6 separate regions of the Homo sapiens genome follow, and all the other regions are linked to region 1. Evidence: promoter capture Hi-C in 16 types of primary human blood cells and fetal thymus (Javierre and others, 2016). All regions are on one chromosome and are shown on one strand. The core of a region is centred on a gene start or on the middle of the fragment in contact, and the rest is flanking DNA. Distances in the headings are between cores, read along the strand shown.

The links. The method cuts DNA at HindIII sites, captures the fragments that hold promoters and counts their contacts. A CHiCAGO score of 5 or more calls a contact.
Region 2: a contact is called between a fragment that was not itself captured here and the fragment with the promoter of CDK17 in region 1, in 1 of 17 cell types (M2 macrophages). The highest score is 5.9, in M2 macrophages.
Region 3: a fragment that was not itself captured here is called in contact with the fragment with the promoter of CDK17 in region 1 in 1 of 17 cell types (M1 macrophages); the score reaches 5.1 in M1 macrophages.
Region 4: a fragment that was not itself captured here is called in contact with the fragment with the promoter of CDK17 in region 1 in 1 of 17 cell types (fetal thymus); the score reaches 6.0 in fetal thymus.
Region 5: a fragment that was not itself captured here is called in contact with the fragment with the promoter of CDK17 in region 1 in 1 of 17 cell types (M0 macrophages); the score reaches 7.5 in M0 macrophages.
Region 6: a fragment that was not itself captured here is called in contact with the fragment with the promoter of CDK17 in region 1 in 1 of 17 cell types (M0 macrophages); the score reaches 7.4 in M0 macrophages.

What each region holds. Positions count from the first base shown.
Region 1 is chr12:96,398,199-96,403,402 of GRCh38, reverse strand. It overlaps CDK17 (cyclin dependent kinase 17), which reads left to right and starts at 2,964. Exons shown (of 17, transcript NM_002595.5): 1 at 2,964-3,417. RefSeq lists an enhancer at 1,981-2,200 and silencers at 2,621-2,950, 3,041-3,220, 3,401-3,560. The HindIII fragment of the contact is 3,343 bases long and covers 1,577-4,919 here.
Region 2 is chr12:98,652,797-98,658,000 of GRCh38, reverse strand. The region is part of intron 4 of APAF1 (apoptotic peptidase activating factor 1); the gene reads right to left. Among named protein-coding and RNA genes, the nearest start is that of APAF1, 10 kb to the right of the region's middle. The HindIII fragment of the contact is 5,891 bases long and covers 1-5,204 here.
Region 3 is chr12:98,599,865-98,605,068 of GRCh38, reverse strand. It overlaps SLC25A3 (solute carrier family 25 member 3), which reads right to left. Exons shown (of 8, transcript NM_002635.4): 6 at 4,942-5,114; 7 at 3,788-3,898; 8 at 1-3,701. The coding sequence ends at 3,541. SNORA53 (small nucleolar RNA, H/ACA box 53) reads right to left here; the gene lies at 5,185-5,204. Among named protein-coding and RNA genes, the nearest start is that of SNORA53, 2.8 kb to the right of the region's middle. The HindIII fragment of the contact is 1,663 bases long and covers 1,898-3,560 here.
Region 4 is chr12:98,530,581-98,535,784 of GRCh38, reverse strand. It overlaps TMPO (thymopoietin), which reads right to left. Exons shown (of 9, transcript NM_001032283.3): 3 at 3,947-4,105. Among named protein-coding and RNA genes, the nearest start is that of TMPO-AS1, 17 kb to the right of the region's middle. The HindIII fragment of the contact is 1,786 bases long and covers 1,331-3,116 here.
Region 5 is chr12:98,489,590-98,494,793 of GRCh38, reverse strand. It overlaps LINC02453 (long intergenic non-protein coding RNA 2453), which reads left to right. Exons shown (of 4, transcript NR_038383.1): 3 at 1,310-1,363. Among named protein-coding and RNA genes, the nearest start is that of TRD-GTC1-1, 11 kb to the left of the region's middle. RefSeq lists a silencer at 3,969-4,263. The HindIII fragment of the contact is 2,331 bases long and covers 1,921-4,251 here.
Region 6 is chr12:98,471,389-98,476,592 of GRCh38, reverse strand. It overlaps LOC124902994 (a long non-coding RNA gene), which reads left to right. Exons shown (of 2, transcript XR_007063420.1): 2 at 1,794-2,043. Among named protein-coding and RNA genes, the nearest start is that of TRD-GTC1-1, 30 kb to the left of the region's middle. The HindIII fragment of the contact is 1,295 bases long and covers 1,608-2,902 here.

The DNA.
Region 1 (5,204 bases), core at 1,715-4,214:
TACAGGCTCCTGCCACCACGCCTGGGTAATTTTTGTATTTTTAGTAGAGATGGGGTTTTGTTATTTTGGCCAACCTGGTCTCGAACTCATGAGCTCAAGTGATCCACCTGCCTCGATCTCCCAAAGTGCTGGGATTACCGGTGTGAGCTACCGCGCCTGGCCAAATTTTAAATCGGTTTAGAAAAGTAATTAAATAGGCCATGGGGCTGGGTGCTGTGGCTCACCCAGCACTTTGGATCACTAGAGCTCATGAGTTCGAGACCAGCCTGGCCAACATGTCCAAACCCCGCCTCTACTAAAAATACAAAAATTAGCCGGGCGTGGTGATGGGCACCTGTAATCTCAGCTATTCAAGAGGCTGAGGCAGGAGAATTGCTTGAACCCAGGAGATGGAGATTGCAGTGAGTTGAGATGATGCCACTGCACTCCAGCCTGGGTGACAGAGCAAGACTCCCTCTAAAAATAAATAAATAAACAGATAAATAAATAGGCCAGGGGTGGTGGCTCCTGTTTGTAGTCTCAGCACTTTGGGAGGCCGAGGTTGGAGGATTGCTTGATGTCAGGAGTTAATACCAGCCTGGGCTGTCGGCATAGTGAGACTCCATCTCATTTAAATAAATAAATAAATAAATAAATATGAAAAGTAATGAAATAAATATTGTGCAATCTGTAATTTTTTTTTTCATTGAAAGAACAAATCCTCCAGGCACGGTGGCTCACGCCTGTAATCCCAGCATTTTGGGAGGCCGAGGAGGGTGAATCATCTGAGGTCAGGAGTTTGAGACCAGCCTGGCCAACAGGGTGAAACCCTGTCTGTACTAAAAATGCAAAAAATTAGCCGGGCGTGGTGGCGGATGCCTGTAATCCCAGCTACTTGGGAGGCTGAGGCAGGAGAATCGCTTGAACCTGGGAGGCGGATGTTGTAGTCAGCTGAGACCACGCAACTGCACTCCAGCCTGGGCAACAAGAGCAAAATTCTGTCTTAAAAAAAAAAAAGAAATAACAAACCAATCAATCAAATAATCACCTAAGTTTTCATTATGAATTCGTCTTTTTTTTTTCTTTTTGAGACGGTGTCTCACTCTGTCACCCAGGTTGGCGTGCAGTGGCAGAATCTCAGCTCACCGCAAACTCCGCCTCCCAGGCTTAATGGATCCTCCCACCTCAGCCTCCCAATTACGAATTCTTTGTTATGCTAATGAAAGATGTAGAAAGAGGAGAGGGTGCTTTGGATGAGACAGAATAATCTTTTTATTTCTCATGGAGTAATGTTAATCTAATGATATGAAGGTATAAGTATTAATGCTGAAACTCAGAATGCCATTTCATAGACTCCCTTTTTTGGTGATTTTTTGATATTTACTAAAGTACTAATTTAGATGAGGCAAGTATATGAAAATCCTTTCATATAAATAGGCCTTGTATAAATATCAGTGTTTCTCTTTAACTTAAAAAGAACTCTGAAAATGATGCTACATCTTGCTATATTATAAAGTTCCAAGTTTGACTTGGACAAATCTAAAAAGCCTCATTAACAGTGCTTTTAAACAAAGCGCACTTGTTCTAACGGAAAGCTTGTTATGTATATTTGCATTCTTGGTTGGTAAACAAGTGTTAAATACGCGTAGAGCATAATTGTTGCTAATTTACGGGTCCTGGTAATTTTAGAGGCATGGGAAAAGCCTGATTGACACGTACGATCGTTGGATATAACTGTAGATGCATTTAACTTTGCCAAACAAAATAAGAGAAAGATGTCAGCATGCAGCATTTTTAAGGGGGAAAGGATTCATCCCTAAATCCAAAAAGATAATTCCCCGAAGTTCTTAGCACATAATGTGATTTGAAACTTCAAAGCAGCTTCTACTTCCGGGTGTTAACATGGGAAAAAAAATTTATCTCACTTCACAGGACTTTTATGTGGGTTTTTTTTTCTTGTTTATGTTGTCTACATCCGGTCCCTACTCTCTTCTTTCAATCCTCTCATTATCTCCCTCTAGGGGTTTAAGTTTGTTTTAACTTTATGCTTTTATCCTTATTAGTGGAAAAAAGTGGGTCAGTATTACTTTAGTTTGTCTTCACTGCCACTCTGCTGTTCATTCCTGAACTAGCTTTTAGCCTCTGGGAAAGGAGAAAGTAAAAACAGTTGCAGAAACTGGGCCAACCTCTCGCGGCCCGCCTCCCCCAAGAAAACAAAACCTAACCCGTGCAACAGTAGTCCTTTCTGTTTTCATAGCACCTTGTATTTCTCCGCTCATAACGTTCAGATTTTTATGATAGTTATTGATCATCTTTCATCCCAGCTAGACTCTCCGTCCTTAGAGGACTCAGCATATTGCCGGGCACATGATAATATATACAAAACACTGTACTGTAGTTTAAATGAATAGATGCCGTGTGTGTGAGAGACTGCGGCACTAGTACCCACGTACCCACACACAACAAAGGAGAAAAGTTGCAGCCATCAACATCTTTCAGTGTGGGTCCTTTGACATGGACTCTCTAGAAAGTCAGTGGAGAACTGTGGCATGGACACCTTGTACAGTAATTACTTGTATAACTGAAGCACGAGTTTTGGTTTGGTAGCGGGAAGTTGAGGGGCAGGGGGATGTTGGAGGGGCTGAATTATTCACATAATTTCTCCCCCAGTCGCTGCGGACAGGCACTCATTCCGGTGGGGTCCCCTGGCCCCCTCCGCCGCTCCCCCGACGCCCGCATTTCGGAGCGGGCAGTTTCCCGGGGACACCCGCCCCGCCCTGCAGGCCCCGCCCCCGGCCGCCGGCCCCGCCCCCGCCTCCGCCGCCGCCGGCAGGGGTCGCGCTGCCCCCGGCGAGCCGCTCAGGCGGGGGTGGGGTAAGCTCCCGCGGCCGGTCGCTTTTCTCCGCCGCCGCTGGTTGGATCGTTTCAATAAAAGTGTTTTTTCTCTTGCACTCGCTCTCCTCCGGGGAACAGGCGGAGGCGTCAATCCGCAGCCGCCGAGTGTGAAAGCGACGCACACGCAAGGAGCGAACGCGGCCGCCCGCAGTCTCCTGAGCTCCCCGCGGGCCGCCGCAGAGCCGCGGAGAAGGAGCCAGCGCCCGGCCAGACAGTCTCAGCCCGCCGTCGGCGCCCGCCGCGCTCGCGCCCGGCTGCTCCGAGGGGATTAGTGGGCCGTCCGCGCGGCTCGTCGGCGCGGGAGCCATGTTGACCGAGGGACTTGGCAACGCGTGAGACACCCGCGGCCCCTCCCGAGGCTCCGGACCCGCGGCGAGAGCCGGAAGGCGGCTGTGGCGGCGGAGGCCTGCGCTCGGAAGCGCCTCACGTCTGCCGGCCGCTGAGACCCGGACTTGCATCCGGTCGCCGCGGGCGTCCGCGGAGCAGCTTCCCCCCGCGCCTCTCTTCGCCTCGCCTCGGGACCCGCGGTCCCCGCTCTTGCTGGTGAGTTGGCGGCTGGCGTCCGCGCCGCGCTTTCCCCTGGTGTCGGGTCGGCCGCGGGGCCGGGAGGCTGCGTGGGACAGAGGCGGGGGCGGGGGCTACTGGGGGCGCGGGTGGCTCAGGCCCGGTCGGGAAGTTGAGCGAGGAGGCGCGGCGCGGGGGGCTAGCGTGCGCCTGTCACCTCTCCGGTCCAGCGAGGACCTTGGGTCGCCCGGGGATTTCCGGGGCTCGGGTGGGGTGTGAGTGTCTGCGAGCTGCTTCCCAGGAGGCGCCGACAGATATAGACGCCGCCGCCTCCGGTGCTCGCTGCCGCTTTGGTCTGCGGGGGAGGCCGGTCTCCTCGCGAGGCGGAGGAGGGGAAAGAGGCAGAAAGTCCCCCGAGACACAAAGGTCCCCTCGGCGGGGGTGGAGCTGGAGGCGCAGGCGACGCTGCCCGGGAGGGGAAGGAAGGGGCGCGGGTCCGCGGGAGGTGGGCGAGGAGGCGGCGGTCGCGGCGCCTGCAGCTCCTTGGAGACGCTGGCGCTGTGCGCGGGTGGGGAGCGCGGAGGAGGAGGAGGAGCCCGCGCGTGGGAGCGGGTAGAGACAAAGATCAGGGCAGCCTCCTGCTGGCGGGTCACACCCCGGAGTGTTGGTCAAGAGCGGAGGTAGAGGGAAGGTGGGAAACCCAGCAAACCGATGGGGAGGGGAAAATGGGGGGAGGAGGGTGCCTAGTGCTGTCTCCGTCGCAGTTGCTTTTCTCAGCATTTTTGTGCCCGATGCTATGCCCGATGCTTTTGCTCCCCAACTCAGCTGGATAGCTCCAGATTCCCTCCCTCCTGTCACCCCCACACTGCCACATTGACTCTCCTGTGGTTTTTCCCTCGTTCTCCCCCTACTTTTCACCCACTCCTTTTCGGGTAAGCAGTATTTTGCTTTCAGCTTGGGGAACATTTGTTAATGACAGGATGTCTGAGCTTGTTCTGACCCTGAACTGCCTTGAACTTCTCTCTCTTCCTCCCACCCTTTCCTTTTCTGGGATCTATAATGTCACATGGCCGTTAACAATTAGCTTTTCTTTTGCAAAAGTGGCAAAAAGCGTTTAGCTGAAATCTGTGGCTCTCGCCTCCTTTACATGAATATGTCCACCAAAGACACCTCGTTGGTCATGTTCTATCACCTCTTCGTCAAATTGACATCAGGTCCTAACAGGTCACTTTCAAGATACAGAAGAGGCAAATTTTGTTTTGAGACTTGGCCATTCCTAGGGTCAGCAAAGTGTATTCCTGGCAGCCAGACCTTCAGTCACTTATCAGGAAATGCTTGACCTAAAGACAGACAATTCTTTCCCCAAACTTTGCTGTTTCTTTTTTGAGTCTTTGTTGAAAGATTTCTTTTAAAAGGCGTTCGTGTGAGAAGATCACAGCAACAAATCTGGCTTGTTCTGTTTTAGACTTACTTTCTTAACTCTTGGGCAGAAGAAAATGAATGAGATTTGAAGACCTTTGATACCTTGGGTAGACAAAGCTTGCCTTGAAACTAGAAATAAGACGAAACTAGATTTTAAGGGGAAAAAATTTGCTAGTGGTAATATAATTGGTTTTGTTTCATTTTTTTATGAGTCTGAGGAGTTGACATTAAACGTTGGGATGTTGCTTTGTTAATGAAGTCATTTCAATTTTTGCAACTCTTAACATCTGCATGCTTCCATAAACAGTGGGTTGGAACAAAAGAAAATGTGACTAAGGGATATTCCTTAAATTCTTTTTTATGTTATGAGAGAGAATATTGGAATATAAAGAATGTTACTTTAT
Region 2 (5,204 bases), core at 1,340-3,839, 2.3 Mb before region 1:
ATACAAATATAAATCACTACTTTAAAAACCTAATCACCCAAAAGAGATACTTGTATATATGCACAAAGATCTATTTACATCAGATATTTATTGGGCACTATTCTAAGAGTTCTCTGTATGTTCATTCATTTAATCCTATAGCACACTATCAAGCAGACACTATTATCTTCATTTTGAAAATGAGGAAACTGAAGAATAGAAAAGTTGAGTAATTTGCCCAAAGTTACACAGCTAATGAAGCAGAGTTGAGATTCAAACTTAAAGTATCAATGTTCAACTTCTACACTATTCTGCATCCACAAGAATATTCACTGCAGCATTGTTTGCAACAGGAAAAAGCTGGAAACAACCCACCTTAACCTACTATCCCATTGCAGGCTTCCAAAGTTTCAGGCAGGCCCAACTGAACCTTATATGTAAATGAAGTTTGGAGTACTGAATAGGACTTGACATATTAATTATGAAAATTAGACTTTTTATAACTTGAAGTGACATGGAGTCTTTGAACCTGCACAAGGTCAAGGAAAGGATCAGTCCCAGAAAAGAGGACGTAAGCAATGGTCTGGATGAAGCCTTGAGGAGCAAATACCTATTCCACTTCCCAGCATAGAGAAAAAAATCGGTTTTCACTCCAGATAAGGAGAGGACTAAAGAGTCAAGAGTATGTGCTAAGAAGCAACTGAATGATGGACAATAAAATGATGGACAATGATGGCTGAAGTCTAGGAGAGGACTGATAGTATGAATAGAGAGGATATTCTGGAATCAATGGATGAGAAGTCTTGGTAAGTCTATAGCATTAAACTTGAATAAAATGGGTGGAGGTGGGTAAAGAGTAGAAGAGAATGCTCAACATCAAGATTTCAAAAGTGCTGTAGTTCTAGTAATGACAAAGATCAGGGTCTAGCCTGTAATCAGGGAAGAGTTAAGAAATGTTCACAGGAGACAAAGAGGTTAAGGAGGTAAGAGGTTAAGGTTTTGGATGACTCATCCACACAGGTATCAAAATCACTAAGAGTGCTAACAGACAAAGAGCATAAGAGGAAGGTTATAATCTACGAACTCCAATCGTCAATGAATGAGACGGTGATTACATCAATAGGAAAGGTTAGAGACATGAACCTCAAAGCATTCAGCTGGAGAAGGGAGTATTAATGGTCTGGATGAGACAACAGAGAGCAAGAACAACGCCCACCCATTTCCTGGTGCTAAAGTATGTAGGATATAAAGGAAAAAAGTTGCCATGTCACTTAAGAAGGTTATGGAGAAGGTAGTAAACTCAGGAAACTGCCCAGTTTCAGATAAGGCAAGACGGCGAATATTCTAAGAAGTTGATGATACAAGAGAGTTTCCTGCTCACAGAGGAGTTCTACAGGGTATGGCAGAAACACATAGGAATGACAGAAGAAGACTTAGATCAGAATTTGGCAATGTACTGAATAGTGACTGCATGAAAGTCTAAAATATAACAAACAACTGGAGACAGAGAACTCTACAGTAACTGAGGTAGAGACAGGGCTGTGAAGCCTGGTTTGATTATCAGTGCCAATGTCTTAGAAGAAGGTAGACAAGCCCTACTGCTTACTCCTAAAGTTTCCTGAGGTCCCCTCAGGCCTCCTTCAGTGTAAGTTTGCAGTTATGAAACAGCAAGTCCTTGAGACTTCACTTAAACTTAAAGCTGTGTTCTGTATGTGTATATATTTATAATTGCAGAGAATAAAGTTTGGAAAAATTTACTCCGAATTGTTAACCAAGATTATCTCTAGGATAAGATTTAGAATTTAGAGCCTGGCACGGTGGCTCCCAGCACTTTGGGAGGCCAAGGTAGACAGACTGCTTGAGCCCAGAATTTCGAGACCAGCCTGAGCAACATGGTGAAACCACGTCCCTAAAAAAATACAAAAAATTAGCCAGGCAAGGCCGGGCGCGGTGGCTCATGCCTGTAATCCCAGCACTTTGGGAGGCCGAGGTGGGCGGATCACAAGGTCAGGAGATCGAAACCATCCTGGCTAACACGGTGAAACCCCGTTTCTACTAAAAATACAAAAAATTAGCTGGGTGTGGTGGCAGGTGCCTGTAATCCCAGCTACTCGGGAGGCTGGGGCAGGAGAATGGTGTGAACCCGGGAGGCCGAGCTTGCAGTGAGCCGAGACCGCGCCACTGCACTCCAACCTGGGCGACAGAGTGAGACTCTGTCTCAAAAAAAAAAAAAAGAAAAATTTTGGCCAGGCAACGTGCTGTGCGCCTGTGGCCCAGCTACTCAGGAGGCTGAGGTGGGAGGATGACCTGAGCCTGGAAAGTTGAGGCTGCAGTGAGCCAGGATCATGCCACTGCACTCCAGCCTAGGTGACAAAGTGAGACTCTGTCTCAAAAATAAAAATAAAAAGATTAAGAATTTAGGAGAAAGCAAAAAGGAACAAGTAAGGAGAACTTTTATTTCTTTTTCTTTTTAAATGAAAATACTACGGCCGCCCCTACTGGGAAGTGAGGAGCCCCTCTGCCCGGCCAGCCGCCCCGTCCGGGAGGGAGGTGGGGGGGTCAGCCCCCTGCCCGGCCGGCCGCCCCGTCCGGGAGGTGAGGGGCGCCTCTGCCCGGCCGCCCCTACTGGGAAGTGAGGAGCCCCTCTGCCCGGCCACCACCCCGTCTGGGAGGTGTGCCCAACAGCTCATTGAGAACGGGCCAGGATGACAATGGCGGCTTTATGGAATAGAAAGGCGGGAAAGGTGGGGAAAAGATTGAGAAATCGGATGGTTGCCGTGTCTGTGTAGAAAGAAGTAGACATGGGAGACTTTTCATTTTGTTCTGCACTAAGAAAAATTCTTCTGCCTTGGGATCCTGTTGATCTGTGACCTTACCCCCAACCCTGTGCTCTCTGAAACATGTGCTGTGTCCACTCAGGGTTAAATGGATTAAGGGCGGTGCAAGATGTGCTTTGTTAAACAGATGCTTGAAGGCAGCATGCTCGTTAAGAGTCATCACCAATCCCTGATCTCAAGTAATCAGGGACACAAACACTGCGGAAGGCCGCAGGGTCCTCTGCCTAGGAAAACCAGAGACCTTTGTTCACTTGTTTATCTGCTGACCTTCCCTCCACTATTGTCCCATGACCCTGCCAAATCCCCCTCTGTGAGAAACACCCAAGAATTATCAATAAAAAAATAAATTAAAAAAAAAAAAAAAAAAAGAAAATACTACTTTAAAAATATTTAAACAAACAAAAACAGACAAATAAACTATCTGTTGCCTTAAGTTTCCATTTTTTTAAATTTGTACTACCTAAAATTTGTAAAAATCGGCCAGGCACAGCAGCTCACACCTGTAATCCCAGAACTTTGGGAGGCCGAGGCGAGGGGATCACTTGGGTCAGGTGTTCGAAACCAACCTGGCCAACATGGTGAAACCCCATCTCTACTAAAAATACAAAAATTAGCCGGGTGTGGTGGCACACACCTGTAGTCCCAGCTACTTGGGAGGCTGAGGCAGGGGGACTGTCAAGAGGCAGAGGTTGCAGTGAGCTGAGATCATTGCACCCCAGCCTGGGCATCAGAATGGGGCTCTGTCTCAAAATAAAATAAAATAAAATAAAATTTGTAAAAATCATCCCAAGATTAAAGGTAAAGAAAGCATCCTGATATGGCTACCTAGTAAATTCTTTCATATTTTAATTTATGTACCTATTACCTAGGGTCAAAGGCCTTTTTCCCTAAATGTATAACTAAAAATTTAGGGCATTTAAATACATGCAAGAAAAGAGAAAACACTACCAGCTTTAAAAAGGCAAACAGACCAAATGACCATCTGATATGTAAATCTCTAACCATCACAATATAACATTTAGTTAAAAACTGAACCATTAATTCCACATTTCAGAAAGAATCTAAACATCTTGACTATGGGCACAAGAGGGAGCAATTTAGCTTTGCATGAGGAGGCTGTATTTACAATTCACTCAGAGAAACTAATTCAGAGAAAAGTTGCCTTTATTCAGGGAAAACTCCACACTACTTTCACAGGAGGCTTATCCTGGTAGCAATTAATAATCTAATAACACAAAGAAATCTTGGAAAGGACAGAAACAAATAGGAACACAGCCTATGAAGAAAGCATCCATGATTAAAAACCAACATACGAATACAGTAATGTAAAATGTCACTACTGTATTTAAAGATACGTCAATTCTTTACTATTTCCCTACAAATAAGAAAAAATTAAAGCATTGAAATTTCAAAAGACAACTGGGTTACTTAAAACTGTATAGACATAAATAGTTAAAAACTATATATATATATATATATATATATATATATATTTTTTTTTTTTTTTTTTTTTTTTTTTTTTTTTTTTGAGACGGCATCTCACTCTGTCACCCAGGATGGAGAGCAGTGGTGCAATCTTGGCTCGCTGCAACCTCTGCCTCCCATGTTCAAGCGATTCTTATGCCTCAGCCACCTGGGTAGCTGGGATTACAGGCATGCGCCACCACGCCCAGCAAATTTTTGTATTTTTAGTAGAGACGGGGTTTCACCATGTTGGCCAGGCTGGTCTCAAACTCCTGACCTCAAATGATCTGTCCACCTCGGCCTCCCAGAGTGCTGGGATTACAGGCACGAGCCACCACACCCAGCTAAAAGTTAACAACTTAATATTCTTTAATTTATGCCAATCACCACCCAAAGAAAACATTTCCATAGGAACCACAATTTTAATCAAATTTAGATCTCTTATATTATCTGTACTTTTAAAAGAAAAGGTTTTGCAATACAATTAAATGTCAAAAATCCAATGTTCCTGTATTTGAGAATGGAAGTGAACTCCAGAGATTAAAATTTATCTTTGGGAAAGCACCTATTCTTGAATTAGTGGACATACAAAGGCAGACTCCAGAGAATAAAGAACTAAATATGAATAATAAGACTGTAATAGGACTACTTGAACAAAACTCAGGAAACACAAGTTAGAAGACAAAAAAAAAAACTGATTAGTTTGACTACATCAGAGTTCTCGTCTACTGAGAACACCCAGGAAAAAAATTAATCAGATGGCAAATTAAAATAAGGTATTTAAAAGTCTAAAACCAGCTGAGCACAGTGGCTCACGCCTGTAATACCAGCACTTTGGGAGGCGAGGCAGGGGGATCACCTGAGGTCGGGAGTTCGAGACCAGCCTGACCAACATGGAGAAACCCCGTCTCTACTAAAAATACA
Region 3 (5,204 bases), core at 1,480-3,979, 2.2 Mb before region 1:
ATGGTTGGCCAAGTGTGGTGGCTCAGCCCTCTAATCCCAGCCCTTTGGAAGGCCAAGGCAGAAGGCTCGCTTGAGCTCAGGAGTTCAAGACTAGCCTTGGCAACATAGCAAGACCTCATTTCTGCTAAAAATAAAAAACATTAGCCAGACATGGTGGTCCACACTTGCAGTCCCAGTTATTCAAGAGGCTGAGGTGGGAGGATCACTTGAGCTTGGGAGATCGAGGCTGCAGTGAGCTATCATCGTGCCACTGCACTCCAGTCTGGCGACAGAGCAAGACCTTCTCAAAAATAAAATATGGTCGAAACGGGACAGACAAGGCGGCTACCTGTAACCCTGGCCGCTTTAGGAGCTGGGGCAGGAAAGTTGCTTGAGGCCAGGAATCCGAGACCAGCCTGAGCAACAGCAGGACCCGTCTATGAAAAAACAGGAGCAAGTAGTGGCACATCCCAATTGTGTCAGCTAACTGGGAGGCTGAGGCAGGAGGATCGCTTGAGCCCAGGAGTTCAAGGCTGTACTCCAGCCTGGGCGACAAAGCAAGAACCCTGTTCTCTAGGGAAAAAAAAAAAAAAGTCAAAACATTTCATAAAACTTTCACACAATGGAGGTTTAGTTAAGCTGTTACTCTTCTGTTCAATTTTGTTGCACCTATCAGAAGGCATAATTTCATAAAATCAGGATTCCTTGGCGTTTTAACCACTCTCAAAATATTTGATCCTACTGGAAGTTACTATGCAATGCTATCTTGTCCCTGAATCAACATAATTCAACTATCAGCTTCATATATATATATATATATATATATTTTTTTTTTTTGAGACAGAGTTTCGCTGTTGTTGCCCAGGCTGGAGTGCAATGGCGCAATCTTGGCTCACCACAACCTCCGCCTCCCGGGTTCAAGCGATTCTCCTGCCTCAGCCTCCTGAGTAGCTGGGATTACAGGCACGCACCACCACCGCAGCTAATTTTGTATTTTTAGTAGAGACAGGGTTTCTCCATGTTGGTCAGGCTGGTCTTGAACTCCCGACCTCAGGTGATCCACCCGCCTCGGCCTCCCAGAATGCTGGGTTTACAGGCATGACCCACTGTGCCTGGCAGTTTCGTGTATTCTTACTCCACTGGGTTCTGCTTTATCGTATTGACAGTAGACATTTCATTAAATGAAATGTAAAAAGAACACCAATACATACATATTAAAATTTTCTTACTAGAATCTTTTAGTATAATTTAAAAACCTGAAATGAGAATTCGCATCACTTTAAGTGGGCCTCTTGGGTTTTGAGGATGAAGTGGCTTTCTCTCAGAAATAGCTTTGAACCGTAACTCTAGTAACTACAGTGGCAGGCTCCATAGCTTGAACACAGCGTATTTTGTATCAATGCCCACAAATAAAACCTATTATAACTCTTAGGAAATAAAACTTGAATCCTGATTGGCAGAACTGCCTCAGTAAGGGCTGGCTGAACTGCATACCCAAAATGTTTTAGATCTACGGTCCACTTTCACGTTGGCTGGACTAATGCGTTTCTACTGCTCCTCTTACACGTTGACTGACTTTCCTCTCAGGAAGAGGTAGAGACTATGTTCCTTTTTTCCTCAATCTGGGACTTGGTTTCTGAGACATCACTGTTGTAACCAAGAGCATGGTAAAAGTGATGTTATGTGACATTGAAGGATAAGTCCTAAAAAGCCAACTCTGCCAAGCTCTCCTGGAGCCCCAAAATACCACCTAAGTCCAGCTGCCCTGAAGCCACCATGCTAGAGATTTTCGGGAAAGACTATACCACTAATAGTGAAAAGCACAAAGAGCATCCTTTCAGCTCAGAAGTGAAAAGCTTCATGAGACTCAGAACCAGAAGAGTCTGATACTCCCGAGTTCTTCACCCACAGAAAAGCTTATCATACACCATTGATCTTTGGATGCTTTGCTAACATAGCAAGAAATAATATACAGTTGATACTGCTAAGCACCACAGCCACCACTTGGTTGGGTTCAGAAGACATCCTACTTTACCTTTTTAAAGTTTGGTCCAAATTTGTACCTACAACTTTTCCTTTTTTCCTGCAGCACAGGTAAAATGTTGGAACCTTTAACAAGTTCAGGCAATGATGATATAAAGAAGTTAACATGCAACTAGCTGCACTGGCTTCTAAATTGAGTTCACTGACCTTACCATGAGTTTGTAGTAACATTTCTCTCCAATCTCTGAAAAAGTTTTTCTCTCCAGGCCATCTGTACGCTTTACGTAGGGACTGTTAACCAACCCACGTATTACACATAAGGACTCTAGGTAAAATCTAGTGTTTGAAAAACAGCATGTTATATATTACACTAGGTTTTTCGTTTTTTTTCCAGTGGTGGGCTGTCATTACAAAAGATTGAACTTTTATACACTTCCTAATCAAACTTAAGGGGAATCTAAACACAAAAACTAATTCACTTTCTAGGAGCTCTTTAAAAATGGGCTTAAACCTACAATCCAATCTCGTATCTAAGTATGATGGAATGCTTTTTCCCCAGTGGCATTCATATAGTTCAGCTGTCAAGCAGTACCTTTCTTAAAATACCAGACTGAAAATAGTTCAATTTTCTGTAAAAAGTCAGAGCCGGGCACGGTGGCTCATGCCTATAATCCCAGCAGTTTGGGAGGCTGAGGCGGGCGGATCACCTGAGGTTGGAAGTTCGAGACCAGCCTGACCAACACAGGGAAACCCCGTCTCTACTAAAAATACAAAATTAGCTGGGCGTGGTGGCACATGCCTGAAATCCCAGCTACTTGGGAGGCTGAGGCAGAACAATCGCTTGAACCTGGGAGGCAGAGGTTGCCGTGAGGCGAGATCGCGACACTACACTCGTCTGGGCAACAAGAGTGAAACTCCGTCTCAAAAAAAAAAAAAGTCAGATCTGTGTAAAGAGAATTAGTGTACCTGAAAATTGTTTTCAGCTGTCAATCACTTTGGTCCTTTACTGTCATTCTAAGAATCAGCCTAATTTGGTTTACCTTGTCTTACAAATAAGGATTAGCAAACTCACCAACATAAAAAAGGTGTAGTACATGCTGCAAAAATGTAAGTATACACTGACATTTACTTGCCAAAATAACCACAAATGACTACACATATTTAACTATAATTAAATCAAGTTTTTAGAAATTTAAAGTCTGCTTCCCTAGAAATACAGGAACTTTGTGTGATAAAACTTGAGACATATGACAATTTCTGAATAGCAACTGGAATATTCAACCAACAATGGTCATGGTCAGTTTTGTATTTTTTCCTTAACTTATATACTTCATTCTTTCCAACTATTTTAAAGCTAAATCTTTTTTAAAAAAGTTTTAAAAATAAGTCACAGGCAAATCATGAAGAGTTGGGTTTATTTCAACAGTAAATCTGAAACTCTTGCCTTAAGCAAGAGTACTACAGTAATTATATCAGGAATAGACAATTTCCTACACTGTCAAATATATAAAAGTTCCTTTTGCACTTTCTTCAACACTGATCAACAAGCAGATTCAGTCCACATTTGCTTTGATCTAACTACTGAGTTAACCCAAGCTTCTTCTTCAGAGACTCTGGCATCTCGGGTGGAGGAGGGCGAGGAAGTCTGAAGTAGACCTTCACGGAGTCATAGATAAACCACTGTAGTGCAGTCAGGGTACCAATCATGATGATACGGGCAAACAGTCCCTTCCATACACCTGGTTCAAACAGGAAAAGCAAATGAAAAAAATGCAACATATCCAAAACTGTTGTTCTTTCTTTCAAGAAAAAAACATCATCCTACCTTTAAATCCAAGTCTCTTGAGGACCAGAGAAGCACTGCTACCTTTTTCTTTATTCAACACAGATACCACAGAATCAGCAGGGTGAGAAACAATTGCACAAAAGACTCCAGCTGAAAAAAGATAAAGGATCCCATACAGTGCCAGTTAAAAACAAAACTTCACAGAGCCAATAATCATTTTTATGATTTTAAAATAATATTTTTCTAGTTCTAAAATAAAAATCAGACTCAGGGTGACACGGGTACAGTTATCAAGCTGTCTATCCTATGTAAAACGGAACAATCTTTTAAAGTTTTTCAGATTTTATTCAACACTTTCTGTATAAAATTCTTAATAAACAACAACAAAAAAATGGTGCAACAGTAAGATCAATACATTCCCAAGCCTAATAATGACATCCCATGAAACAGCCCTTTTAGGAACTAGTTAGCAAGTATTTATGAATCCTAAAAAGCATATAAAATGTTATGGGAAGATAAAACTGCTTTATAGGCCAGGCACATCACCTGAGGTCAGGAGTTTGAGACCAGACTCATCAACATGGTGAAACCCCATCTTTACAAAAATCAGGCCAGGCGCGGTGGCTCACGCCTGTAATCCCAGCACTTTGGGAGGCCAAGGCAGGCAGATCACCTGGGGCCAGGAGTTTGAGACCAGCCTGGCCAACATAGTGAAACCGTCTCTACTAAAAATACTAAAAATTAGCCGGGCGTAGTGGCAGACGCCTGCAATCCCAGCTACTCAGGAGGCTGAGACAGGAGAATCGCTTGAACCCAGGAGGCGGAGGCTGCAGTGAGCCAAGATTGCACCACTGCACTCCAGCCTGGGCAACAAGGGTAAAACTCCATCTCAAAAAAAAACAAAAAACAAAAACAAAAATCAGCCGGGCATGGCGGTGCATGCCCGTCCCAGCTACTTGGGAGGCTGCGGCAGAAGAATCACTTGAACCCAGGAGGAGGAGGTTGCAGTGAGCTATTATCATGCCACTGCACTCCAGCCTGGGCAACAGAGCGAGACTATGCCTCAGGGAAACCAAAAAAACAAAAACACTGCTTTATAACCTTTGGAGTATTTTTCCCTCTCAAAAAACGCCAATAATGGAAATGATTATTTGTTCATAATTTCAGACAAGTGTGTTCTAAGTAATTCGTACCTATGTAACCTGCTACAAATGTTACAACCAGCTGCTCTGGCTTTGAACATTCACTGCGGGGCTTAGGAACCACAAACTTGTACAGTGCTTCAACAGTACGTTCAAAGCAGGCGAACTTCATCATGGTGTATGGTATCTGTCTCATCCAGAGAGGAGCAACCCCCTTGTAGAATCTAGGAAATCAAGAGACTTGTTTTACACAGTTGCATACACTCATCTATCAGAGACTGTCATTATTAACAGAAATGTCCGCACACGAGTCG
Region 4 (5,204 bases), core at 974-3,473, 2.1 Mb before region 1:
CATAATCAGAATATTTTCAATTATACCACTGAAATGTCAAAGTGAGTTTCAATGATGAAATGGAAAAGGGGTGTTCATATACAAATATTTAACTTGTTGCAACTCCAAGAATAAAGCACACAGAACAACATGTTTCTGGAGACCACACAACACTGTTCAAATTTAACAACTTTATTGAATTTGCAGAAGCATTCTACAGTAATACATTTTTAAAAATCACATAGCACTCAGTAGGTACATGTATACATGTACATTTCAGAAGACAACAAATAAAATTACTCTCAGAAAGCTGCAAAGATGGACACATATAATCTAAGAATGTGGTAATGGCCAGAGGGAGTACCCAAGAGACCATATTTTATTATGCTTAAGGCTACTACTTTCCACAATACCTCTGCAGTTAAGACTCTTAACTTACAATCACAGAAATGAAAACATGATAATACACTGCTTTATACAGACATACAGATACTGGGATATAGTATAATTTCTTATGGCTTAAAAAAATTTAATTTGCTTTTAGAGTCTATATTGCTAAACTTAACTTTCCACAAAATACAATATATCATGAAAGCAAAGTATTATTTTTTAAAAGGCCCCATTATCTGACAAAATAGATGGTGAACATGCACTATCCCAGGATATCTATTATTATCCAAAGAAGTGTTTCTCAAAGTGTGGTCCATGGTACTGGTCCATGAATTGGTTGCTACCAGTCAATGAAGAGATAAATTACTTGCATCAGAGTGTAAATCAATACATTGCTTTAGCTATTAATAAAATTTTGCTAAAAAATCAAATCCTGTCATTGACCTAAAAAGTATCTCTAGATTTAAATTCTTGTGCATGCTTATCTTGCCTGTGGATAAGTAACAGTTTGTAGACTGGTGCTTTGAGTTGCATTGATCTAGACTACTATGATTGATGTTGCAGACATGAATAAATAACAAAGAAAAGTAAGAAAATATGAGCAAAAATATGGACAAGTTATGGAACGTGAAAAGATACTGAGATAAAAGTATCAAAAAGAACAACATCACTGTTCTGAATGTGTAACAAATGTTTAATTCTGTCCTAGGTATAAAGGAGGATGCATATTATTCTATTGAACAGTAAATACTCCTTATATCCTAATTAGAATTTTCTTAGTTTTGGAGAATTGTAAAAACATAAGTAAAGCAGGAAACAGAAAACAACTTAGAGACTAATATGTGATCTAGAAAGCGTTAAATTGTTTGTACCAGGCTTCCTATCTACGCAAATCTTTAGAAAAGACAAGTAGTTCTACACAGGCAATTACTTTTATACTGTAATTTGATGGGTAGAAGCTTAACATTTTGTAATTAGCCCTATCTGGAAACTAAAACAACCTTAACAGAAAAGAAAATGTTGGCATAAAGTACCTGAAAGATAAGATAGATGTCTTTTTGTCCTTAATTTTACTAGTGTTTATTTCCACGCTTTTTAATTACTTTGCATACTTCTCCTCCAAATAATGTTCCACCTTTAAAGGGAGTGGAAGCCAGCTTATTCTTAGAAGCTAAATTAATTTTGCAATCCTTCAGCCAGAGGTATCGACGACCTACAGTGGCATTTCCCATGGTATGGGCAGCCATCTTCACTTCATCAAATGCAGCTTCACAAATATATGAGGCTGCATCATATGTTTTGCTCAGAATCCCAAGCGCTTGGTGGGTACGACTAGGATCTGAGCTAAGAATCTGTGCAGCTTGACTAATGTCTGCCTGCATAGCCTTAGCTACAAAGGCAGTGTGAGTTGCAATCTGCAATGCTGATGCTGCAGCTTCATATGCTCTACAGAGTGCTAAGTCCAACTGCTGATTGCAAGACTCAGTGGAGGCTGCTTGAATACCTCCTAGTGGAGTGGCTTCAGAAATAAACCCTAGGATTTCATCATCTACTTTTGGAACTGATAATATCTGTGTTGCCTCCCTGGAAGAAACTGGATATTTGCATGCCAGTGAAGGCAGCTGCCTGTCAACTTGCTGCCATTCTTCTTCAATTACTTTTAAAATAGATTCATGGAAGGGAAAAGATAGTTCTGAGGCATCTATTTTATCATGCTGTGATTGCTTAGCCACTTCTAGACCTAAGGTAGTGAGTGAATGAGAGACAACAGTTTTGGCAAAAGAAGACATCAGTTCGGATCCAGGTATGTTCTGAAATGCCACAAAGGAACCTGAATCCCTTTCCTCCACTGACTTCTCACTCAGTCTAGGGACTTTTCTTGGAGGAGACAGGAATTCAGTTTCTTGAAACTTAGACTGATCAATTCTCTTCTGTATGTTTTCTACATCCAGTGGGGGCATAGAGTTAGAAGTTCCAGGCAAACTACCTACCCCACCCTGGACCAACAGAGAATTGACATAATCTCTGATTGCCTGGGCAAGTGGCGGAGAAATTAGTTGTGAGCTCTCAGACTCTTCTAGTGCTTTCCTTTTACTGGAGAGAGGCGATTGATCTGAAATATGGGACCTCTCAGGACATAATGGTTGAATTCCACTTTTCTCTCTACCGCAAATATTTTCTACTATGTCTTTATAGTAACCAGTGGTGGTTTCTTTAATCAGTGAAGGAGAAGCTGCAGTAGAGACCAACATGGCACTGTGTTCAGGCTGAGAAGATGACGAAGAACTTTTCTCTAAACACCTATCATGGCTAGACTTGCATGAAATAAACAAATTCCTTTCAGAGGCTAACTTCTGCAACTGTCCCCTGCCAGGCAAGTTTGTGGCAACAAGAGGCTCCCTAGGTAGGTCTCCCTTAGAAGTATGTACTTTCTTAGCTGCCTGTAGTTCGGTACTGCCCAAAGGAGGACGGGTGGAGATTTCAGGAAAAGAAATACCCTGAAAAAATCCACCACCAGAGGGAGTAGTTCCAAGTTCAGAAAAAGGAACAATATCCCTAGTGGACTTCACTTTCTTGTGTTCTTTCTTCTTTCCTGTAGAGGCAAAAGAGGCAGGAAGTTTAAGCATTACCTGTGTTTGAGCTGATTTTATTCTTTGCCTCTTTGCTAAAAATAGTGCTGTCAAAGGAAAAGACTATAATTTCATATTCTGAACTAATCTGCCAGATTTGCCCTGGTAGACAAAGCTTATTGAGATATAAACAATCTGGATCAAAATAAATAATCACAAGTCATATTAATTAAAAGTTTACAAAAATCAAGTTGTATTTATAATTTTTAAAGGACATTTATTTCACATACTATCCTTAAAAAATATTTAAACATCATGATCAAATTTTAAGATACTATACAGTCTACTAAAAATATAGTCAAAATATTTGCTTTAAAGTTGCCCTGAGGTCAGATTAACAAAAACTGCGAACAATTTAAATGCCTATCAATAGAGAACAGAGAAAATATGCCATATTTAAATGCTACCACTATGTATTAATTATGAAGAATAAACAGATATGTAATTAACAGGATTAGATTTCAAAAATAATGGAGTAAGAAAAAGCAAGTGATAAGATTTAGCATACTGTTTATATAAATTTTTTATTCTTAAAGTATAAAATAATACCATGTATTAGACAGATGTGTATGTGAAATATAAAACTTGAAAGACAGGCATTGAATTAATAATAGTAGTTACTTCTGTGGAGGTGATAGGTACAGGTAAGTACGAGAAACTTTGCCTTTACTTGTAATACTTTATTCTCTCAGAAAAATGAGATTTGTAGCAAAAAAGACAAAGTTAACTTGCAATTTCAGGTGATGGAAAATTATGAATTTGTACTATGTTGCTTCTTAGAATTTTCAATAAAAAGTATTTAAATCAAATTACAGAATTACTCTAATGACACGAATAAAATTTGTGTATCTTGCCAATATTGTTTTAAATTTTACTTTCTTCATGGTCACTGAATTTTGAGTGTGAAAAAATTCCATACATTTGATTAACATCATTTAAAATTTTACCTTCTTCATTGTCACTGTATCTGTCAGAATCATTACTTCCATTCTGCCTTGTATTTTCTGCTGAAGAAGAAATTGTTGGCAGAGGAGTAGAAGATCTTGATTCTGTTCCTTGTTCCCTCAGTTTCAAAAGCTTTTTCTCATATAGCTTCCTGGTTGTTCCTGGATTAAGGCAGAACTTGCTTTAGTACCTGTATTGTTTCATTTAGGATGCAGCTCAGACACTATCTTCAGCAACATTTTAAGCTATTTTCACCCTTTATTTTTCTAAACTCAAGTTCTTAAAAAAAAAAATACCATATAATGCGGCCAGACATAGTGGCTCACGACTGTAAACCCACCACTTTGGGAGGCTGAGGCGGGTACATTACTTGAGGTCAGGAGTTCGAGACCAGCCTGGCCAACACAGGGAAACTATCTCTACTAAAAATACAAAAATTAGCCGGGCATGGTGGCACACGCCTGTGATCCCAGCTACTTGGGAGGCTGAGACAGGAGAATCACTTGAAATTGGAAGGCAGAGGTTGCAGTGAGCTGAGATCGCACCACTGTCCAGCTGGGAGAGGAAGTAAGATGCTGTCTTAAAAAAAAAAAAAAAAAAAAAAAGGACGTGGTGGCTGATGCCTGTAATCCCAGCACCTCCAGAGGCCAAGGCGGGTGGATCACCTAAGGTCAGCAGTTCAAGACAAGCCTGACCAACATGGTGAAACCCAGTCTCTACCACAAATACAAAAAATTAGCTGGGCCTGGTGGTGGGCGCCTGTAATCCCAGCCACTCAGGAAGCTGAGGCAGGAGAACTGAACCCAGGAGATGGAGGTTGCGGTGAGCTGATATCGCACCATTGCATTCCACACAACTATATAATGCACTCTTTTTACAACAGGTGGTTTTTTGGGAAATGACATTTCTTTTAATAGCATGAAATACATAGTAGGTTAATACAGGCCTTTCTATAGACCATCTACTGAAAAGCCATGTATGACTATTTTTGACTGAAGTCTTGCATTTATTTTCTCTACTACTACGTAATAGTACTTGCCAAGGTAGAAAAATCACATGTAAGCGGATTGTACCTCTATGAAAAATAACTATGATTAAATTTCCACAACTCTAAGACATTAATATGCCTGTATTCAGTTATGGGGAAAAGAAAAGTTCTATAAATCAGATTTAAATATAACAACTTTGCAGTTAAAATGACCTTTTATGGAAAACACATATCACAAAGCAAAATTGATTACAAATTCTTAATACATTTGA
Region 5 (5,204 bases), core at 1,837-4,336, 2.1 Mb before region 1:
GGCACAAAAAATTAGTAAGACTCACTTCTTGCCCTCAAGGAACTCAAATTTCTTGAGGGAGGTGGACTTTTAACTGATAGTTACAATACAATTTGGTAAGTGCTATGGTGGAGGCATAGCTCATGCTGATGGAGAGCCTGCTATGCCTTAGGCTTCAAGTGCCTTATATAATATTAACCATTGTCCAAGGACAAAGTTATAACAGATTTAAAGATCTTAATTGGCTTCCATTTGTGATTCTAAAATCAGGCAACATCTCATTCCATAAAATAGAATGAGTATTTCAATGAGCTGAACAGAAGAGTTTGGCTTTTATTTTATTTTTGAGACAGAGTTCCGCTCTTGGTGCCCAGGCTGGAGTGCAGTGGCACAACCTCAGCCCACTGCAACTTCTGCCTCCCAGGTTCAAGAGATTCTCCTGCCTGAGCCTCTTGAGTAGCTGGGATTACAGGTGCCCACCACCATGCCCAACTAATTTTTTGTAGTTTTAGTAGAGACGGGGTTTCACCATGTTGGCCAGGCTGGTCTCAAACTCCTGACCTCAGGTGATCCACCTGCTTTGGCCTCCCAAAATGCAGGGATTACAGGCATAAGCCACCTTGCCTGGCCAAGGTTGGCTTTATAGACAAAAAAGGGTTGAGCAAAGCAGAAACAGAAAACACAAAGTGGATTGGTGCTTTAAAGTTACTTTCCGTTTAAAGGTTAAAGCAGAGTGGACCTTCTTATCATTCCAGCGAAAACTGACCTGCTTGGGGATTTGACTATTATATCTCGCTGCTGATTTCTTTCTCTCTTTTTTTTCTCTCCTTTTTTTGAGACAGGGTCTTGCCCTGTCACCCAGGCTGGGGTGATCACAGCTCATTGCAATCCCTGCCTGAACCGGTCTTCTCACCTCAGCCTCTGGAGTAGCTGGGATCAGAGGCACGCGTCACTATGCCACTAATATTTTGTATTTTTTGTAGAGGGATGGTGGTGGTGTTGGGGGGTGGGGGCTCTCCATGTTGCCCAGGTTGGTCTTGAACTCCTGATCTCAAGCTCAGCACCTGCCTTGGCGTCCCAAAGTGCTGAGATTACAGGTGTGAGCCACCATGCTCCGCCCCCTCCTGATTTCTTGGAAGGTCAGATAAACAACTTATTTTCAGCTTAGTGGTGTGGAACTCCAGCATGAGTGACTCTATTTTGGTTTGTCTGTTGGGCCTAGTGTAGGAACTCAGTTCAAACCAATGACTTACTATACATTTTATTTAATACCATTTAATCCTTATTTAAATCCTATGAGTTTGCTATAATAATTTTCTCCTTTTTACAGTGAGGAAACTGAGGCACTGGAAGATGAAGGCTACAGAGGTAGAAAGTGATGGAGGTATGTGCAGAATACTACGGGATTACAGAGAGGGAAGGGCTGGAGTGGTCAAAGAAAGACCTATTTTTAGCTGGGCCACCAAAGAATGATGATGAACTTAGAAAAAGAATGGGGGAAATGTTTTCCAGCACTTAGGGAACAGAGAAACATTAATACAAAGGCTCAGAGCATGTGGCAATTTGGGAAAAGTGGCAATGCGGGAAAGAGTATATGGTGGAGGGGCTGCTGCTTAGGGGACTGGAGTGGCAGGGGGCAGGAAATGTCTTCACCTTTCATTATAATGCATGACTGGGGAGAATTAAACATCACAATCTTTGAGGAACTGACAGGAACCTTACCTATCTTCTTGATCCTTTCGTTATACAGATAAGGAAACTGAGGCCAGACAGCTCCAGTGATTTAACTAAATTCCTGTGGCCGAGAACATCACCTTTATCTGTTGCTGTAAATTAAGGAATCTGTGGGCTTAGTGATTAGGTGTCCCTCAGAGGTTTTCAGGGCCTCAGATCTTGCCATCACTTTCCTTAGAGTTATCTGTTCCTGGGCTGGCCTAAGCTTCCTGTCCTTTAAGGAACCTGCCTGCCAACATTGGCCCCAACCCAACAGGAGATCAGTGACCTCCGTTTTCCTGACTTTTTTCCTGCCCTACTGACCACCTGCTGACCTATCCCGGTTAATAGCTTTACTGATCTGTCTAGCTTTGAGGCAAACACTAGCCCCAGTGTGAGGAACAAAGGGTCCTGGTGACCCACACCCCCTGGCCCTTTGGCATTCAGTCCTCAGGCTACCCAGAAGGACAAATTATTCAGCCTGTTTGGGGTGGGATGGAACAGTTTCTACTTCTTTTCTTTGGATTTTTTTTTTTTTTTTGAGACCCGTCTCACTCTGTCACCCAGGCTGGAGTGCAGTGGTGTGACCTTGGCTCACTGCAACCTGCGCCTCCCAAGTTCAAGCAATTTTCATGCCTCAGCTGCCCGATTAGCTGGGACTACAGGTGCGGGCCACCATGCCTGGCTAATTTTTGTATTTTTAATAGGGATAGGGTTTCACCATGTTGACCAGGCTGGTCTCAAATTCCTGACCTTGTGATCCGCCTTGGACTTCCAAAGTGCTGGGATTACAGGTGTGAGCCACTGCGACAGGCCTTTTCTTTAGTCTTTCCGTGTTTTCTAAACACAAAGCAACAGAAAAACTTCTGCTTCAAATGCATGACTCAGGTCTGGCATTCAAGTTGCTGCTATTTTGGGAAAAAAGCTGCCTGTAGCTTTTGAAATTTCTTATTCTCCTACCTGTGATTAACTCATATGATTAGCAAAGTTTTATTATCAGAATTTATCAATAAAATGAAGTTAGTGATCTAGAAAATAAGAAGAGAACCAGCACAAAATAGCACGCAGAATCCCATTTTTTTTCTATGCATTTGTAAGTACTGGAAACGTCTGGTGGCTGGGTGCGGTGGCTCATGCCTGTAATCCCAGCACTTTGGGAGGCTGAGGCGGGAGGACCACTTGAGGTCAGGAGTTCGAGACCAGGCTGGCCAACAGAGTGAAACCCCGTCTCTACTAAAAATACAAAAATTAGCTGGGCGTGGTGGTGGGTGCCTATAATCCTAGCTACTCGGGAGGCTGAGGCAGGAGAATCACTTGAATCTGGGAGGCGGAGGTTGCAGTGAGCCTAGATCGCGCCATTATACTCCAGCATGGGGACAGAGTGAGACTCCGTCTCAAAAAAAAAAAAAAAAAAAAGGAAGAAAGAAAGAAGAAAACATCTGGAAAGAAGTAGCTGAAGATATTAAAAGTAGTTATATCTGGGTTAAGAGTGTGTTGATGATCGCTGTTCTTTTTGCTATTCCACCTTTTCTAAATTTTCTACTATGTGCATATATTGAACTCAGAAAAGCAAACAATAAAATTTTCTTTAAAGTTATTAATATTAGGCAAAGCAAATAGCTCAAATGTACATTTGTGATAGTCCTCTTAGCCTATGACATGTTGAGTAATGTATTCTAGTTTGGTTTTCCTTGTTAGCCAGATTTCATTATTTTGCAGCTTAAGTTGTTTATTTCTAGTTCCTTAAGGTGGGGAGGAGGTGAGGAGGTGAGGAGGGTGAAGAAGCAAATTCCACTTCAGTAAAACAGGGCGTGCAGCCTTTTCCCCTGAGTCCCTTTGTCTCAAGGCCCCTGTGTTCCGGGTCTTTTGTTGTTCTCTGCATGGACTTTGATTCGAGATTTAAAGAAAAACAAGTGCTGGCCCTCCTTGCGCCCTCTGGTGTCCCAGTGAGGTATAACCGGACAAACCGCACAAAGATCACAGCCATTTTCACACAGCGCTCCCCCGACACAGTGATGCCTGGAGACGGGAATGTCTGGAATCTTAGAGGAAGGAATCACACACCGACAAGCATGGCAGGCTTAGTCTTTGAAACTTAATCAGAGCCTGTAAGTATGGATACTGTTTTTTAAAAAATTAAAAGCAGTATCTGGACTGCAAGTATTTAAAAAACCTAATAGGAAATAAGTCAACTCTCAAAGCATTTGGCACAGCTTTCTGGGTTCTAAAACTAAGAAAATCTTACTACATATGTTGTTTTATAAATACAGCATAAACCAGTACTTTGTTATTTGTTTTAAAAATTTCTTTTAGAGACAGGGTCTTGCTCTGTCACCCAGGCGGGAGAGCAGTGGTGCAATCTTAGCTCACTGCAGCCTTGAATTCCTGGCCTCGGGTGATCCTCCATGCTTCCGCCTCCCAAAGGACTGGGTTTACAGGTGTGAGTCACTGTGCCTGGCCTAGAACTTTGGATTAATTGCAAATAAATTAGGTGAAAGAGAGGTCTGGATACCTAGGCTTTAGCTTGACTGAGGATAATGATTTCCGCAACTTTAAGCTTTACCATGTAGACCAAAAATAAAATTCTAAGCTCCCCAATCAGTTGAATGGATGCCTCCTTGTCCAGGGGCATTCCAAAGTTACCTGAAACGCTAGTTCATGTCATGATGGGAACAGGTGGTCAGACAAGCCTCATTATACTCTCCTCCCTTTGGGACAGAGTCCCTTTGGGATTCAGGCACATCTGACCAGCATTAACATAAGTCTGACAAAGAAGGCTTTTTGTAGCAGTAAGATACCAACATGACAGACAGCAGGCCCTGAAGTAAATTGAAGTAGTTTACCCCAAAAAATATATATATATTTTTGACACATTTTGAAATGGCCCTGCAAAGGTGTCTCTTGTGGGGAAAATCTACTTTCAGTAGAGAATCCCCTTCCCTTTCCAGATATTTTTCCTTAACCAGGAGAGAATTTACTGAGAGTCTTGCACCTTAAAAAGGTAAAAAATAAAATTTTTGGCTGGGCATGGTGACTCACGCCTATAATCCCAGCACTTTGGGAGGCCAAGGCAGGTGAATCACCTGAAGGTCAGGAGTTCGAGACCAGCCAGGCCAACATGGTGAAACCCCATCTCTGGCTAATACAAAAATTAGCCAGGCATGGGGTGGGGGTGTGGGCGCCTGTAATCCTAGCTACTTGGGAGGCTGAGGCAGGAGAATTACTTGAACCTGGGAGGTGGAGGTTGCAGTGAGCCGAGATCACACCATTGCACTCCAGCCTGGGCAACAAGAGCGAAACTTCGTCTCAAAAAATAAAATAAAATAAAATAAAATAAAAAAAATAAATAAAAATTAAAAGTTTTACAATCTGACCTGGTGCTGTGGCCCACTCCTGTAATCCCAGCACTTTGGGAAGCCGAGGCAGGTGGGTTGCTTGAGCCCAGGAGTTCGAGATAAGTCTGGGCAACACGGTGAAACCCTGTCTCTACTAAAAATACAAAAATTACCAGG
Region 6 (5,204 bases), core at 1,006-3,505, 2.1 Mb before region 1:
TCACTGAAAGTCCTAACACTTTAGAATAGTTTCTTCTCTGGGGTGGGGAAGTGGGGGGAGCTGGTGAGGGGTAAGGCAACCATAGTCTTAGAAACCAAAGCAGTTAATTTTTTTTTTTTTTTGAGATGGAATTTCGCTGTTGTCACCCAGGCTGGAGTGCAATGGTGTAATCTTGGCTCACTGCAACCTCTGCCTCCCAGGTTCAAGCGACTCTCCTGCCTCAATCTCCTGAGTAGCTGGAATTACAGGCACAAACCACCATGCCTGGCTAATTTTTGTATTTTTAGTAGAGACGAGGTTTCGCCATGTTGGCCAGTCCGGTCTCAAACTCCTGACCTCAGGTGATCTGCCTGCCTCAGCCTCCCAAAGTGCTGGGATTACAGGCGTAAGCCACTGTACGTGGCCTAGTTAACATTTTATATATCAGCTTGCTACATATGCCTAGGAATGCTACAAATGTACATTCTGGATTATAAGAAAATATGGGACTGTCCCCCATTTCTTTTTGTCTGTATTTCTAACTTTTATACTATAAGGACATATATTATTTATATATATGTATATATTATGTTATATACTATTTATATGCTGTTTACTTATAGGATTAATTTTTCAATCCACATAATCAGGATTGATCAATATTTTTTAATATCAAATAATCCCAGGATATAAATCTAATTGCTATAATACAATAGCATTCAATTAATCATTAGTGTATTATTGCCAATGGGAAATTTAAGAAGCATATTTAAAAGAGTAGAGTTATAACTCAGTTGAACCTCTGATTAATTTTATCAGAAGAGATGAAGTCATTGGAGGAAGAGTAAATGCTGTTTAGGGCCAGCTCCTAGTTTAGGTTAGCTTAGATTGGTAGGTTTTAACTCACTTAGTGGGTCATTCCTAGGACAGAAGAATCTTAGGCTCTTGGCCTGGAGCTGTTGGTTTGCTCTAGGGTAAAAATTTGGATCCTAGTCAGATTACAAATTTAGTTAAGTCTCATATAGTCCCTGAGGGAGGGGAGATGGGGGTGCTGTTTTTCTTCGCAGTTTCTGCAGTTGCTTCAGCCTGGAGCGTGCTGTTGCTGCCAGGAAGACAGGCCTGTCTAGTGTAATCTACGAGAGAGAATGCTTGGCATTCCTGGACAATGAAGCACAGAGAGAAAATGAAGATTCCCTGAGAGGTGCCAATCTCCTTGAAAATAAATCAGATTTCAGCCTGGGCAATGTGGTTAAACCCCGTCTCTACAAAAACTACAAATATTAGCTGGGCTTGGTGGCATGTGCCTGGAGTCCCAGCGACTTGGGAGGCTGACGTGTGAGGATCACTTGAGCCTGGGAGGCAGAGGCTGCAGTCAGCCAAGAGTGCACCACTGCACTTCAGCCTGGGTGACAGAGCCAGACTCTGGCTCAAAAAAAAAAAAAAAAAAAAGAACAAGAAAAATAAATCAGAAAATCAGATTATTAGGAGAGCCCTGGGAGAGGAGGATGTGCAATTGTGTGTGTGTGTGTGTGTGTGTGTGTGTGTGTGTGTGTGTGTGTGTGTGTGTGTGTGTGTGTCTGTGGTTTTAAAACAAATTGAAAAACTTGATGGGAAATCATAGGAAAGCTTATATAAAGGGAGGATCAGAGGAAACTTACAAGCTGCTGAAATCTGTATAATATCAGGATTTAAGCCACGGAGATAATCTAGGAATGAACTTTTTAGATAGAAAAAAAGGTGATGTGTTTTTCTTGAATAGACCTGTTGATTTGTTCATTCAGGTTTTTTTTTTGTTTTCTGTTTTTTTTTTCTAGAAACTCAAGACCTGCTCGTGTAAACAAAACCTTAATAACATTTTGATTTCTAAAGGTTTATGTTCATTGTTTCTAAAGTTTTAATAATGAGGAAGGTGAAAAAAATTTATTATTATAAATATCAATTGCAAGAAATCATATTAAAACAATGTCCTTAAAGTTTAAGATTTTTCCCACTTCAAATTCCTGGAAATGTAAAAACACAATCTTTCAGTTTTTCTTGTTGAAATAATAAAGTGTTCTGAATAAATCTACTGATTTTACATAGAGTTCTATGGCTTTGATACTATAAAATGAAATGGTTTGAGATTGAAATAATTCAATTATTTTAAATATTCCTGCAGTTCTTAAGTGTGTAGCCTTATTGGGAACCTAAAGTGGAATAAGACAATTGCCTAGTGTCTGTATTTATAGTGTAGGTCCCTGTTGGAAAATTTCATTGAGGTTTCTTTTTCTTTCCTTCTATTTTTTTTCTTTCCTTTTTTTTTTGTTTTTTTTTTTTTTTTTGAGACAGGGTCTCAATCTGTTGCCCAGGCTGGAGTATCCACCTGAAGCCTCCACTTCCCTGGCTCAAGCGATTCTCCTACCTCAGCCTCTCGGGTAGCTGGGATTATAGGCACTTACCACCATGCCTGGCTAATTTTTTAATTTTTCTGTAGAGATGTGTTTCACCATGTTGCTCAGGCTGGTCTTGAAGTCCTGGCTCAAGAAATCCACCCACCTCGGCCTCCCAAAATGCTGGGATTACAGGTGTGAGCCACCGCGCCTAGCCCCAACTCACAGTTTTTAATTGCTGTGAATACTCCATGGTGTGCATCATTAGGAGGAGAGCTTTTTAAGGAGGCAAGAGAATTTGACAAACGTGGTAGAGATGGTCAGTAAGAAGGGTTACACATTGGGAGATTTAGTAGTATGGAGGCCAGTGGCAATGTTTGGTGGAGCAGGTTCTTGGGGTCGTGGGGGTAGAAGCCAGACTGCACCGAGCAGAGGCCTGTTTGGGAGGAGAGCAAGTAAGACATTGACTACACTCAGCCTGCGAGGGAAGCTGGACCATCCAGGGAAGGAGCAAGGGGATGCAGAATCAAGGAAGAGCTTGGAATTTTTAAGCTTTTGTTATCCGAATAATCCATGTTCAATGTAGAAAAATTAGGAAATTCAGATGAGCAGAAAGAAAATAACAAAATGGAAAGTATATTCATTTCTTAGGGCTACCGTAACAAATTACCACAAACTGGTGCCTTGAAAACAACACAAATGTTTTTGTTTCTGTTCACATTGTTCTGGAGGCTATCTGAAATCAGAGTGTCAATATGGCTGTGCTCCCTCTGAAGGCCCTACGGGAGTACCCTTCCTTGCCTCTTCCTAGTTTCTGGTGGTTGCTGGCAATTGTTGGTGTTCCTTGGCTTGTAGCCACATCCCTCCAATCTCTGCCTCCATCATCACAGGGTGTTCTTCCTGTGTGTCTCTTCTGGGTCTCTGTTTTCTCTTATAAGGACACCAGTCATTAGATGAGGACTCATCCTAATCTAATAGGATCTCATCTTTTTTTTTTTTTTTTTGAGATGGAGTCTCTGTCACTCAGGCTGGCGTGCAGTGGCATGATCTCGGCTCACTGCAACCTCCGCCTCCTGGGTTCAAGTGATTCTCCTGCCTCAGCCTCCCAAGTAGCTGGGATTACAGGCATATGCTGCAACGCCTGGCTAATTTTTGTAATTTTAGTAGAGATGGGGGTTTCACCATGTTGGCCAGGCTGGTCTCAAACTCCTGACCTCTGGTGATCCGCCCACCCTGGCATCCCAAAGTGCTGGGATTACAGGTGTGAGCCACTGCGCCCCACCAAGACCTCATCTTAATTTAATTATATCAGCAAAGACCCTCTTTCCAAATGTGGTCACATTCTGAGGTTCCAGGTAGACATGAATTATTGGGGAACACTATTTGACCTAGCATTTCTTTTTGCTTTCTTTTTTTTTTTTGACACAGGTCTCGCTCTGTCACCCAGGCTGAGGAATGCAGTGGTGCCATCTTGGCTCACCATAATCTCACCTTTGAGGCTCAAGCTATCCTCTCACTTCAGTCTCCTGAGTAGCTGGGACCACTAGTGCGTACCACCATGCCAGGCTCATTTTTTTTTTACATTTTTGGTAGAGACAGGGCTTTGTCGTGTTGCCCAGGCTGGTCTTGAACTCATGGGCTTAAGCAATCTGCCCACCTTGGCCTCCTAAAGTGCTGGGATTATAGGCGTAAGCCACTGCGCCTGGCTAGTATATTCTTTTCCCCTCTCCCCTCCTCTCTTTCTCTCTCTCTCCCTCTCTGTCTCTCAAAGGATGAGGGGAAGCATGAGTGTGTTTATAGATTAAATGAAAGAGTTAGGAGAAAAGAAGAGGTTGGAGATAAATCTTAGATACTTGGTAGGTCAGAGTCTCAGCAGAGAATGGAGAGGTGGGTTGGAGAGCACTGGGGAAGGGGATGGGCCTGGGGCCTGCCTGGGTCACACAGCCTTGCCTGGTCACTGACTCCCAGCCTGATGCGGAATTACTCTCCTCAAGAGCACCCTGCCTAGGTACAGCCTTTCACGGGTCAGCCTTAGCAAAGGCTGTGATGGGAGGGAAGAGGAACATGCCCCAAATGGGATCAAATGCAGGGCTCTGGGAGAGAGCTGACTGGAAGGATGCTTGCATCCTACCCTTCACCTCCTCTCTGGGGTTTCAGGAAAACATAATGATCATAATGATGTTTTTATGTTTCCTGTGATGTTGGTCATCTTCCCCTCCGCAACCCCTGCCTCCCTTCAAGTTTTGCCTGCATCTTATAAACTGGAAAAACCCAAGAAACTCCTAAGTTCTATATAGTTCAGTAGTAGGTAGTGGCCTCTGCCAGTCGGAAAATCCCAGAAACATGGCCAGTTTAAAACCAACACTTGGCCGGGCGTGTGGCTCACGCCTGTAATCCCAGCACTTTGGGAGGCCGAGGTGGGAGGATCACAAGGTCAAGAGATAGAGACCATCCTGGCCAACATGGTGAAACCCCGTCTCTACTAAAACTACAAAAATTAGCTGGGCGTGGTGGTGTGTGCCTGTAGTTCCAGCTACTCAGGAGGCTGAAGCAGGAGAATCGCTAGAACCTGGGAGGTGGAGGTTGCAGTGAGCCGAGATCATGCCACTGCACTCCAGCCTGGGCAACAGAGCGAGACTGTCTCAAAAACAAAAAACAAACAAACAAAAAACCCAACACTGGAAATGGAAATGGACTTATCATTACGGCCCTAGTTCAGCACACACAAGATGTATAGGGAAACCAGTATGATAGGCCTGATGACCCTGGGCAGGTAGTCAAGGGTAAAGTTTCTTAGGTGATGAGAGGCCTGGTACTTCTAGTCTCTAACATGCATTCTTGAGCAGGGATGTGATG